Regions from separate parts of the Homo sapiens genome. Here all the other regions are linked to region 1. Evidence: promoter capture Hi-C in 16 types of primary human blood cells and fetal thymus (Javierre and others, 2016). All regions are on one chromosome and are shown on one strand. The core of a region is centred on a gene start or on the middle of the fragment in contact, and the rest is flanking DNA. Distances in the headings are between cores, read along the strand shown.

Evidence for each region. The method cuts DNA at HindIII sites, captures the fragments that hold promoters and counts their contacts. A CHiCAGO score of 5 or more calls a contact.
Region 2: a contact is called between a fragment that was not itself captured here and the fragment with the promoter of GPX7 in region 1, in 3 of 17 cell types (naive B cells, total B cells and total CD8 T cells). The highest score is 6.1, in naive B cells.
Region 3: a contact is called between a fragment that was not itself captured here and the fragment with the promoter of GPX7 in region 1, in 1 of 17 cell types (total B cells). The highest score is 5.5, in total B cells.
Region 4: a fragment that was not itself captured here is called in contact with the fragment with the promoter of GPX7 in region 1 in 2 of 17 cell types (naive B cells and total B cells); the score reaches 5.6 in naive B cells.

Annotation. Positions count from the first base shown.
Region 1 is chr1:52,601,049-52,603,748 of GRCh38, reverse strand. GPX7 (glutathione peroxidase 7) reads right to left here and starts at 1,378. Exons shown (of 3, transcript NM_015696.5): 1 at 1,202-1,378. The coding sequence starts at 1,339. The HindIII fragment of the contact is 11,376 bases long and covers 1-2,700 here.
Region 2 is chr1:52,505,649-52,508,348 of GRCh38, reverse strand. All of the region lies in intron 4 of TUT4 (terminal uridylyl transferase 4), which reads left to right. Among named protein-coding and RNA genes, the nearest start is that of TUT4, 46 kb to the left of the region's middle. The HindIII fragment of the contact is 256 bases long and covers 1,180-1,435 here.
Region 3 is chr1:52,526,991-52,529,690 of GRCh38, reverse strand. The region is part of intron 1 of TUT4 (terminal uridylyl transferase 4); the gene reads left to right. Among named protein-coding and RNA genes, the nearest start is that of TUT4, 25 kb to the left of the region's middle. The HindIII fragment of the contact is 6,606 bases long and covers 1-2,700 here.
Region 4 is chr1:52,488,602-52,491,301 of GRCh38, reverse strand. It overlaps TUT4 (terminal uridylyl transferase 4), which reads left to right. Exons shown (of 30, transcript NM_001009881.3): 8 at 501-570; 9 at 2,267-2,393. Among named protein-coding and RNA genes, the nearest start is that of TUT4, 63 kb to the left of the region's middle. The HindIII fragment of the contact is 1,081 bases long and covers 722-1,802 here.

The DNA.
Region 1 (2,700 bases), core at 129-2,628:
CAAGCAGGGATTACTGTCCCCAAGACTCCCAGCATAATCGAAAATTTCAAGGCTTATAGAGTACTGGTCTTCACTAAAGATGGTGTTGCTCCCAGGAGAAAAATGTTGACATCTATTTTTGTGTGGTTCATCCAAAACTGGACGCTGGCCCACCTGTTCATTAGATTTCAACTCCCCAGCCATTTCACACCAGTCCCCAGGTCCATCCTGAAGAGGTCCACTCTGGGAGTTCTTCACTGCACATAATGTGACATGCAGGCCTCTCAATGTAGTGTTCAAGGTCCCGCCTGCTCCCTTGCCAGTCGTTTCAGCCTCATCTTCCACCACTCGTAGCCTCCAGCTTTAGACTCTTTGAAGCACAACAGCTGGAACTCCTGGCCCCGCGCCCCCCCACCCCCTTCTTGCTGTTTGCTTCTTAGTCTTGCTAAAATCCACTCGTATTCAAAGACTCAACCCAGATACCCTTCCTCTCCGAAGTCTTCTCTGAGCTTAGATTCCCTCTTGGTAATGAGGGGGCAATTAGCCTGGATGACTCTTATGTGTGCCCCTGAGCTGCCATCTAAGGACTTGGCCTAGAGAGGACCCCGGATGTGGCGGTGGGGTTCTCTTCCAGGCCCCGTCTTTCTAGTGTAGTGTGACCTTGTGCGAATGCCTGCCCTCTCTGGGCCTTTGTGCCCTCTCCCAGGGATGATCCGTGTGAGGTCTCCGTGCATCTGAAATAACTCTCTCTCTGCCCTGCACATTGATCTCCACAGTGTTCTTCACTGGACTCCGAATCAGCCACTCCCCGTTCCAGATGCAGAAAATGAGGACGGGAGAGGGAAAGGCCGCACGATGCTACGGTTACTTTTTTCACCCGTGAATGGCAAAGGCTGGGCAGTGGTGCCCGGCCTCCCGGCGAAGGTCTGGACCCCGCTGCCCAAAGGTGCCGGTAGCGAAGTGGGCGCCGACTGCGAGCGCTTCGGGTTCCTCCGCGCCAAGGCCGTGCCACGTAGCCGCGGGCCGGGCCGGGCCGGGCGCGGGATGGGGGCGCCGCGCCAGAGGTCACGGCCGAGCGGGGCGGGGGCCGGGGTTTGGCGGCCGCGCGGCTGGAGCGTCCTCGGAGCCACACCGCGCGGGGGACCGGGCTGCGGGGCGTCCCCAGCAGGCCCCGCCAGGGCGAGGCCGGGCCCAGCGGCGCCGCCAGACCCCGCGCACTCACCGATCCGCGGTACTTCTCCAGCGACACCAGTTTGCCCCGGATGTTGACCGCCTTGAAGTCGTAGAAGTCCTGCTCCTGCTGCGCGCAGGCCGCAGCCCACAGGAGCAGCCACGCCGCTGCCACCGTCGCCGCCACCATGGCTTGTTCCGGAGGTGGCGGCGTCGCGAGGGCAAAGACGGGGCGGGGGGATCTAGCGCGGGGGGCGGGAGGAGGCGGCTCTGGCGCCGCTCGGCCCGCAAGGCAGGACGCGCCGCGTTCTCGTTCCCTCCGCAGGCGGTGGATGTCCGGCTCTGGACCTCAGTTTCACCGTCTGTCCTGAGGCAGCGCACCCCTGCCCCGGACCCCAGAGCCAGGGTTTCAGGATTCTGTCCCCTGAGACCGGAGTTCGTTTCAGTGAGGCTCCCTCTTGTCCCAGGAAACAGCGACTTGGCAGGGACAGGGAGGCAAAAATCTGAGAGCTCAGCTTCTCATTAGTGCAGCGGCCTTAGGCTGGCCTGGTCACGCCCCCACTCCGACCTCAGTTTCTCCACATGTTAAGTGGAGCTAGTCGGTATAGGATGGAAGTAATAGAAAAACGGATGCGAAACACTTTAACAGTTGAATGGTGCCTGCAAACTTCAGGTGAATGAATGCATGTTCCCTGAAAGTGATGGCTGGGAGAAGAAGAGAGGACCGTGGGCCTGTTGCAGGTTAGGTTCCTGGAAGCAGATTCTGAGATGGAGATTGGAGTGCAGGATGTTTATGAGGGAGCACCCTTGGGATCAACAGGCGTGGGAAGGATGGGAGGGAACAGGAGTGGCACAGGGGGAAAGTAGTGAGCTCCATGCAGGCCCCAAGACAGTTTTAGCTGACTCGACAGGGACTCTAGAGCTAGAGTAGCCCATCAGATGAGCTAAGATGGCCAGGTCATCCTGCCTTTATCAGTCCTTGGATGTGGGGCCACCTGGCAAGTGGGGCAACAAGGGCCAAGATGGCCCTGTCTGTGGAGAAGCTGACATTAAAGGCTTTGTGCTAACAGCACTCCTAGCAGCTGGTGTCTGTCCTAAGTCCTCAGTGATGGGGGATCTGGGCAGCACATCACAATGTCTCCCCCTGCTCAGAAAACCCCTGTTGAGCCCATGAAATGTCAAACATGGAGCTGGATCCTGTACTCACAGGCTGTGAGTTTTTTCTGGAAACTCACAGACTGGTGTGAGAGAAACCAGGTAAACTGCAGATTTTATGTAATGTGGTAAGGGCTAAGCACTCCTGTGGTCATCAACAAAAACTTCCTGAGCACCTTTTCTATGCCAAGTTTTGCTTTAGGTGATTCTTAGGCAGGGATGAACAGGAGGGCATTATCTCTATCCAGGGAGACACAGGAATTAAATAATTTATAAATAGCTCTAAAATTACTGTTGTGGTGAGTACCACCTAAACTAGCCTGGAGGGCCATGGAGGGCTTTCCAGAAAAAGGGAGATTTGAGCTGAGCTCTGAAGAATGAGGAGAAATTGGTCAG
Region 2 (2,700 bases), core at 58-2,557, 95 kb after region 1:
AACCTTTTTTTTTTTTTTTTTGGAGACAGAGTCTCACTCTGTCTTCCAGGCTGGAGTTCAGTGGTGCAATCTTGGCTCACTGTAACCTCTGCCTCCCAGGTTTAAGCGATTACCCTGCCTCAGCCTCCCAGGTAGCTAGGATTACAGGCATACCATGCCTGGCTGATTTTTGTATTTTTAATAGAGACGGGGTTTCACCTGGGCAAGCAAGAAACTTAAAAAGAAAATCATACCTAGGCTGGGTGCAGTGGCTAAGGTCTGTAATCCCAGCACTTTGGGAGGCTGAGGCAGGTGAGTTGCTTGAGCCCAGGAGTTTGAGACCAGCCTGGGCAACGTGGCAAAACCCTGTTTCTACTAAAAATACATAAAAATTAGCTGGGCATGGTGGCATGTGCCTGTAATCCCAGCTTCTTGGGAGGCTGAGGTATAAGAATTGTTTGAACTCATGAGGTGGAGGCTGCAGTGAGCCAAGGTCACACCACTTCACTTTAGTCTGGGCGAGGGAGCGAGACTCTATCACAAAAAAAAGAAAAAGGAAAACTATACCTATACACATTACAGATTGAGTATACCTTATCCTAAATGCTTGGGACCAAAGTATTTTGGATTTTTTCAGATTTTGGAATATTTGCATTATACTTTAATGAGCATTTCCTTTGAGCATCATGTTGGTGTTCTAAAAGCTTCAGATTTTGGAGCATTTCACATTTTGGATTTTCAGATTAGGGATGCTCAGCCCGTATAGGGAAACTTTAGAACATTATAGAAATGAACAAAAAGAAAGCAAACTTGAATGCAGCCATATAGGACGTATACTTTTGGTGAAGTTAGAGTAACAGTGGATTTACTTTTCCCTTGAAATGACAAACAAAAAAAAAATACAGAAATATGAAGCAGTGGTTTTCAGGCGACAGAGTCAATGAATGAAAAACAAATGGCCTGAGCCCAATGTTGGCTCCAGCTTGAGAGTTTCTAGGTTGCACTATAGGGAAGGGAACCCAGTGGACTCTCACAGTTGAAGAGAGAGACCTTAGAGTGCACTAAGTCCAAGATAGCTAAAATTCACAGGACAGTGTAACTAAAATGAGAAAACTGCACAAAAAGAAATCCAGAGAACTGTGGATGATCCTCTTAAAGTATTCAGCACAATGCTGATTGGTGCATGCATATGAAAAAGCTTCCTGAACCCAGGGAAAGAATTGTCAGAGGAAATTAGACCAGTGATTGGTGCTCATACAGGACTTCTTCCTATCCAGACTGGAAAGCCTCGTGCTTCATGGGACACTGGGTAGAGTACTCAGAAGAATCTTGTTTCAGTAGTAGGGATATTTAGCCCTAAACTAAATGTGGTCTGGTCCTACATAAAATATTTTAAAGGCAACATTCAAAATGATAAATGGTTTCCAAGTATTTAATGTCATTACAGAACAAAGCTTAGGAATATTACAGAAATACAAAAATACTCATCACTGAAAAAAGTTCACATAATGTAGCATTTAGTCAAAGATTATCAGGTATGCAAAGAGGCAGGAAAATACAAATCATGATGAAGAGAAAAGTCAGCTATAATAACTGACCTTGAACTGACGCCTTTGTTAGGATTAGCAGAGAAGGACAGTAAGACAGTTAATATAACTGTATTCTTGATGTTTCAGAGATGAAGTAGAGACATGGAAAATATAAAAAAGATATGAACAGGACTATTAGAAACGAAAACTACGACATCTAAGATTAAAACTATATTGGGTAGGAATAATAGTACATCAAACATTGCAAAAGAAAAGGTTAGTGAACTCTTGAAGATAAGCAGTGGAAACCACCAGAGTGAAACACAGAAAGAAAAAATTAAACAAAAAGAAAAAAGTTAATGAGCTCTGGATAATTGATCAATATACATGTACTTGTTCTGTACAAATTTTTCCAGAACACTGAAGAGGAGAAATACTTCCCAGTTCAGTCTGTGAATATGAGGTCCACGTAACTCTGATATTCAAACCAGAGACATATTGCAATAAAGGAAAACTTTATTCTTAACTTGTTGACTCCGACGGGAGAAAAAAAAAGAAAGAAAACTTTAGGCCAAAACTCCTCATGAACATAGATGCAGAAATTCTAAATATAACTTTAGCCAATTGAATCCAACAGCATATTAGAGGAATGAATGTGTCATGATCAAGTGGGGCTTTATTCCAGGAGTGCAGTGTTAGTTTTACATTAAAAAATCCCTCATTGGCCAGGCGCAGTAGCTCAGGCCTGTAATCCTAGCACTTTGGGAGGCTGAGGAGGGCGGATCACCTGAGGTTAGGAGTTCGAGACCAGCCTGGCCAACATGGTGAACCCCGTCTCTACTAAAAATACAAAAATTAGCTGGGCATCGTGGCTCATGCCTGAAATCCCAGCTACTTGGGAGGCTGAACCCAGAAAGTTGAGGTTGCAGTAAGCTCAGATCGTGCCACTGCACTCCAGCCTGGGCAACAGAGCAAGACTTCATCTCAAAAAACAACAAAAACAAAAAAAACCCCGCTCATTGTGATTTACCATGTTAGCAAACAGAGAAAACTATGTGATTATCTCAGTAGATGCTGAAAAAGCGTTTTCAAAAATGCTTTGATAAAAAGTCTAAGCACAGCCAGGTGCGGTGGATCATGCCTGTAATCCCAGCACTTTGGGAGGCTGAGGTAGGCAGATCACCTGAGGTTG
Region 3 (2,700 bases), core at 20-2,519, 74 kb after region 1:
AAGTGGATGAATAAATTGTCTAAAATGTTTTACAAGCAAAATTGTGAATCAGCATTGTTATTTCAAATCTTTGTTGTTTTATGGCTTTTGTCAGATGACATCTACAAAATTATTAAAGAATCGTTATAGCAGACTAGCATTAAAAATTTAAAGATATTTTGGTTACTAGACAAGGTAAAACTAATCTTTTAGAAATATAACTCATTTTAATTTTTGAAACAGAGCTCATTTTAGTTGTTAAAGTGAGGAACCTGCAGCAGTTCTCACAAGAATTTAGAAATAGTCATATGTTTTGACAACTTTTCTGACAGTTATGTAAAACACCTTATCAAGAATAATAAAAGCAAAATGTATTAATTAAACAAATTCATATGTATAAAAATTAGGAGCAAAAGCATTCTTTTGCAGTTGTAAGTTTCTATAGCTTTTACTGGAAAATGTTAGTCAAAATATTAATGGTGAAAATGTAGTGTGGTTTAAAATTTTTTTTAATTAAAAAATTTTTAAATATACTTTGCTAGACTCCAACTGACACCATATCTAGTGTGGTTTTGACTTTAGTTTTCATTATAATAATTTAGAAAGAAGAACCTAATACATTTTTAAAGTAAAAGACAGTATTACTCTGGAAAAGCAAGGCAGAGAATGTAGAGGACTGCACTATAAAGAAGAATTATTGGCCAAGTGTGGTGGCTCATTCCTGTAATCCCAGTGCTTTGGGAGACTGAGATGGGAGGGTCACTTGAGGCCATGAGTTTGAGACAAGCCTGAGCAACATAGTGAGACTTTGTCTCTACAACAAAAAAAAATTAGCCAGGTGTGGTGGTGTGCGCCTGTGTTCTTAGTTGCTTGGGAGGCTGAGGCAGGAGGATCATTTGAGCCCAGGAGTTCCAGGCTGCAGTGAGTGATTATTAAAGAGTGAACTCTTTATTTTAGGTAGGATTTTTTTGTTTATATGATGTAAAGTTATATGATAGAGATGTTTACCTAAATTTGTAATTTAGTAAATCAACCAAGTAAAATCAAAGATGGTACATTTTAATTCTATGCAGTTTGCTTTTGCTGGCAGAAGGACTCTAATTTTTATTCATATTATTAATGTTTGTTTAGAAACGGATCTGAATTTAAGGTGTATAGGGCAAAGTGAATAGTAAAAAACATCCTGATTTTTTAATAAAATCACTTTTTTTTTTTTTTTTTGAGACAGGGTCTCACTCTGTTGCCCAGACTGGAATGCAGGAATGCAATCTTGGCTCACCGCAACCTCTGCCTCCTGGTCTCAAGCGATCCTCCCACCTCAGCCTCCTAAGTAGCTGGGACTACAGGCGCATGCCACAGTGGCCGGCTAATTTTTGTTTTCTTTGTAAAGATGGGGTTTCACCATGTTGTCCAGGCTGGTCTTGAACTCCTGGACTCAATCCGCCAGCCTCGGCCTCCCAAAATGTTGGGATTACAGGTGTGAGCCATGTGCCTGGCCTTGACATTATTATTATTATTATTATTATTTTTTTCGAGATGGAGTCTTGCTCTGTCACCCAGGCTGGAGTGCTGTGGCGCGATCTCAGTTCACTGCAACTTCCGCTTCCCGGGTTCAAGCAATTCTCCCGCCTCAGCCTCTTAAATAGGTAGGATTTTACAGGCGCCCACCACTGTACCCGGCTAATTTTTGTATTTTTAGTAGAGACGGGGTTTCACCATGTTGGCCAGGCTGGTCTCGAACTCCTGACCTTGTGATCTGCCCACCTCGGCCTCCCAAAGTGCTGGGATTACAGGCGTGAGGCACCATGCCTGGCTGACATTATTTTTTAGAACACTTTTAGGTTCACAGCAAAATTGAGCAGAAAGTGCAAAGTTGCCATATATACCCTGCATCCACACATGCATAGCCTCCCCCACTTTCAACATCTGGCACCAGAGTAGCATGTTTATTACAGTGGATGAACCTACATTGGCCCGCATTGATACCTTATCACCCAGTGTCTATAGTTTACTTTAGGGTTCATTCTTGGTAATGTGCATTTTGTATCATTATACAAATGTGTAATGACAGATATTCACTATTATAGTGTCATAGAGATTATTACTATTACTTTTGTTTTTTTTTAAACTCTTAAGTTCCTTTTTGTTGTTGTTGTTTTTGAGACAGAGTCTTACTCTGTGGCCCAGGCTGGAGTGCAGTGGTGCGATCTTGGCTCACTGCAACCTCCGCCTCCTGGGTCCCGGTTCAAGCAATTCTCCTGCCTCAGCCTCCCGAGTAGCTGGGATTACAGGCATGTGCCACCACGCCCAGCTGATATTTGTGTTTTTAGTAGAGACAGGGTTTCACTATGTTGGTCAGGCTGGTCTTGAACTCCTGACCTCGTGATCCGCCCGCCTTGGCCTCCCAAAGTGTTGGGATTACAGGCATGAGCCATTGCACCCGGCCCCTGTTGGTTTTTAAAGTATACTTCAGCGAATTCATTTGAACCCGTTTTTACTTCAAGGTGGAGAAAGTCTATTGTTTTCCCATATTTAGAGAGTCAAGTTTGAGGTAAGTTCGAGGTAGGCTAGAGGTACAAATAGATGCTAGTTGGTGGTAAAGTCTTGTGGGCAAGATTTTACCATTTAGGATTCCATAAACGGATTCATTTATAGCACATAAAGATTGGGATTCTCCATCTTTGAGATGGAGTTTCGTTCCTTCTTGTTGCCCAGGCTGGA
Region 4 (2,700 bases), core at 13-2,512, 110 kb after region 1:
CCTTAGCAGCTTTGATTAGGCAAACTCTTCATATACTAACGGGAAATGTGGCCTGAAGAGTTAGGTTGTAATTACATTGGTAATTTAAAAGAACTAAACTGTCAAAGCATGATAGGTCCTCCTTTCATGGCTCCTGTGGAACTAGCTCTCAGGAGTAAGGGGTGTCCTCTCTTTGCTGTTATCTATGAAGGTTTAACAACTTTGACTAGATTATCTACTTACTTGGAAATATTAAAACTTTTAGGGATGTTAAGACCTTTCTTAAGGTGATTATAATTTTTGGACAGTATTTGGGGCTGTACCTGTGGTTTGTGATATACAGCAAATGACACCAGGAGAGGTAAGAGATTTCGCTGGGTTGGTGCTCATAATGAGAAGAGTGGATTATCCCACAGAAGCAATGAGAATAATTTTCAGAAGGAAACTGTTACTTAATGTTTACTGTAGAGTACGTATTTTAGAGATGTTGACATTAGCTTACTTTTTTTTTTCCTTATTAGTATTATATGTAGATGTGGAATCTGATTTTCACGCTAAAGTTCCTGTTGTGGTGTGCAGAGATCGAAAAAGGTTGGTAACAATGAAGATAAAATATTTAAAAAAACAAACCCCAACAACCAAATTTGTAGTGAATGATCTTTAAGAGAAAAAGTTTTTGTTTTAGATTTCTCCTTGGATGAATATGACTAAGCTAGTTTCTATTCATTAAAAATAGCAAGCTTACCAAATGCATGTGAACAAGAAATATATAGAACATCAGACAGTTGAAAATAAAATACTCTAGGCAAAACTTCAATTTTTTTTTTTTCAAGTCATTCACTCACCCAAGAGTATTGCATTTACTTATATGCAGGTACTACTTTGCTCTATGGATACAGACATAAAGAAGAAATAGCCTCTCTTCAGTCACTTGAGCCCAGGAATTCAAGACTAGCCTGGGCAACATAGTGAGACCTTGTCTCCACAAAAAAAATAAAAAAATCAGCCAGGCATGGTGGGTGTGTGTGCCTGTGGTCCCAGCTACTCGGGAGGCTGAGGTGGGAGGATGGCCTGAGCCTGGGAGGTTGAGGCTGCAGTGAGCCGTGATTGTGCCACTGCACTCCAGCCTGGGTGACAGAGTGAGACCCTGTCTCAAAAAAAAAAAAAAAAAAGCCTCTCTTCTCAAGGATCTCACAATCCATTAGAATTTAGAGTTTAGTTTTTATTTCACTTACATTGAATGAGTTGATTTAAATTGAATAAACTCAAGATCAGTCCTAAATTGAAGACTGATCTTGCCTTTCTAGTTAGATGTCTATAAGTCTAAGAGATCAAAGTGCCTTTGAAAGCAGAAACTAAATCCTATTTGAAAGTAGTGTGGGAGACATGGAAACAATACAGAAATGATATTCTTTTATTGATTATTAACTTGTATTATATTTTAAGATCAAGGTATTTTCTTATTCAAAGCTAGATGAGTCTATGGCGATCTAGTTCAGATTTATTTTCTAAACTAGAAAAATGGGACCTGGAGTGGTTTATCAGTTTGTCTAGATTCACATCATTGAGGGGGAAACTATAATTGGAAAATGGAGGCAAAGTGACCTTTAGTGTTTTTTCTGCCACATTGTGTTAAATTGCCTGTGTGTGACACCTCAGATTTATTCTTCTCCCTGCTTTCAAAATATCTTCACTACACTTCTGTCATCCCATTTAAGGTTGCTGCTATTTTCACTTACACAGAAGTATAATTTGTGGGTTAATCTGCAAATCCTGTCTAATCTTTACTCTGAAAATAACATATTAGTACAATTGTGAAAGCTTGGATAGGAAAAATTAGAGTCAAGAAGTATAGCCAGTCAGTTAAGTATTCATTTTTTGCTATTATCATGTAGAAAGCAAGAGGATTGAACTAGGAAATTACCTTGCACTATTTGACATTGAAGAGATCAGTGCCCTGTCTCTCATGTATATCAGTTTTGATAATTCATAATGCTGCTTTTGAAATTAATTTCTCATTAACTTAAATACTAAGTTTGGTTGAAATTTATTTCTGAAGTACAAATGAATGTTAAAAACATCTTTCTTTAATTCGTATGGAACTCTAGTTATGGAATGACATGTAGTTTTCAGTTAGCTCTAAATTTATTAAAACATTTGTTTTTATTAGGGCTTTTACGGTACTATGTTACAATATGATAACTAGAAAGAAAATAGCCACAGGATTTGAAGTATTCTGCTTTTAAGGGTATTAATACAATGAAATTTGTTTCTTTCTCATTCACAGTGGTTTACTTTGTAGAGTGAGTGCAGGAAACGATATGGCATGTCTCACTACTGATTTACTTACTGCCCTTGGCAAAATAGAACCTGTCTTTATTCCCTTGGTGTTAGCCTTTCGCTACTGGGCTAAGGTAAGTGAAAGAGAGGAAAACTACTTATTTATATTTTTAGAAGGAAATGTATTTAATCTTCAAAATTAGGCCTTTTCTTGTACTGACATGTAACATCAATCATAACATGTGGGAGAAAGTAGTTTTCTGTGCTAGACAGAAAGTTGGTGTGGCAGGTTGTAATTTATGGACATAAAAATAAATTTTTGTAGACACACTTATGGATATATTTTAGAATTTTTAATTGTCATGCTATATTCTCCTTTTATGTACTATAGAAATGTTCTCTTTCATATCAGCATATGAGGCTCAAGTTTTCACTCTTACT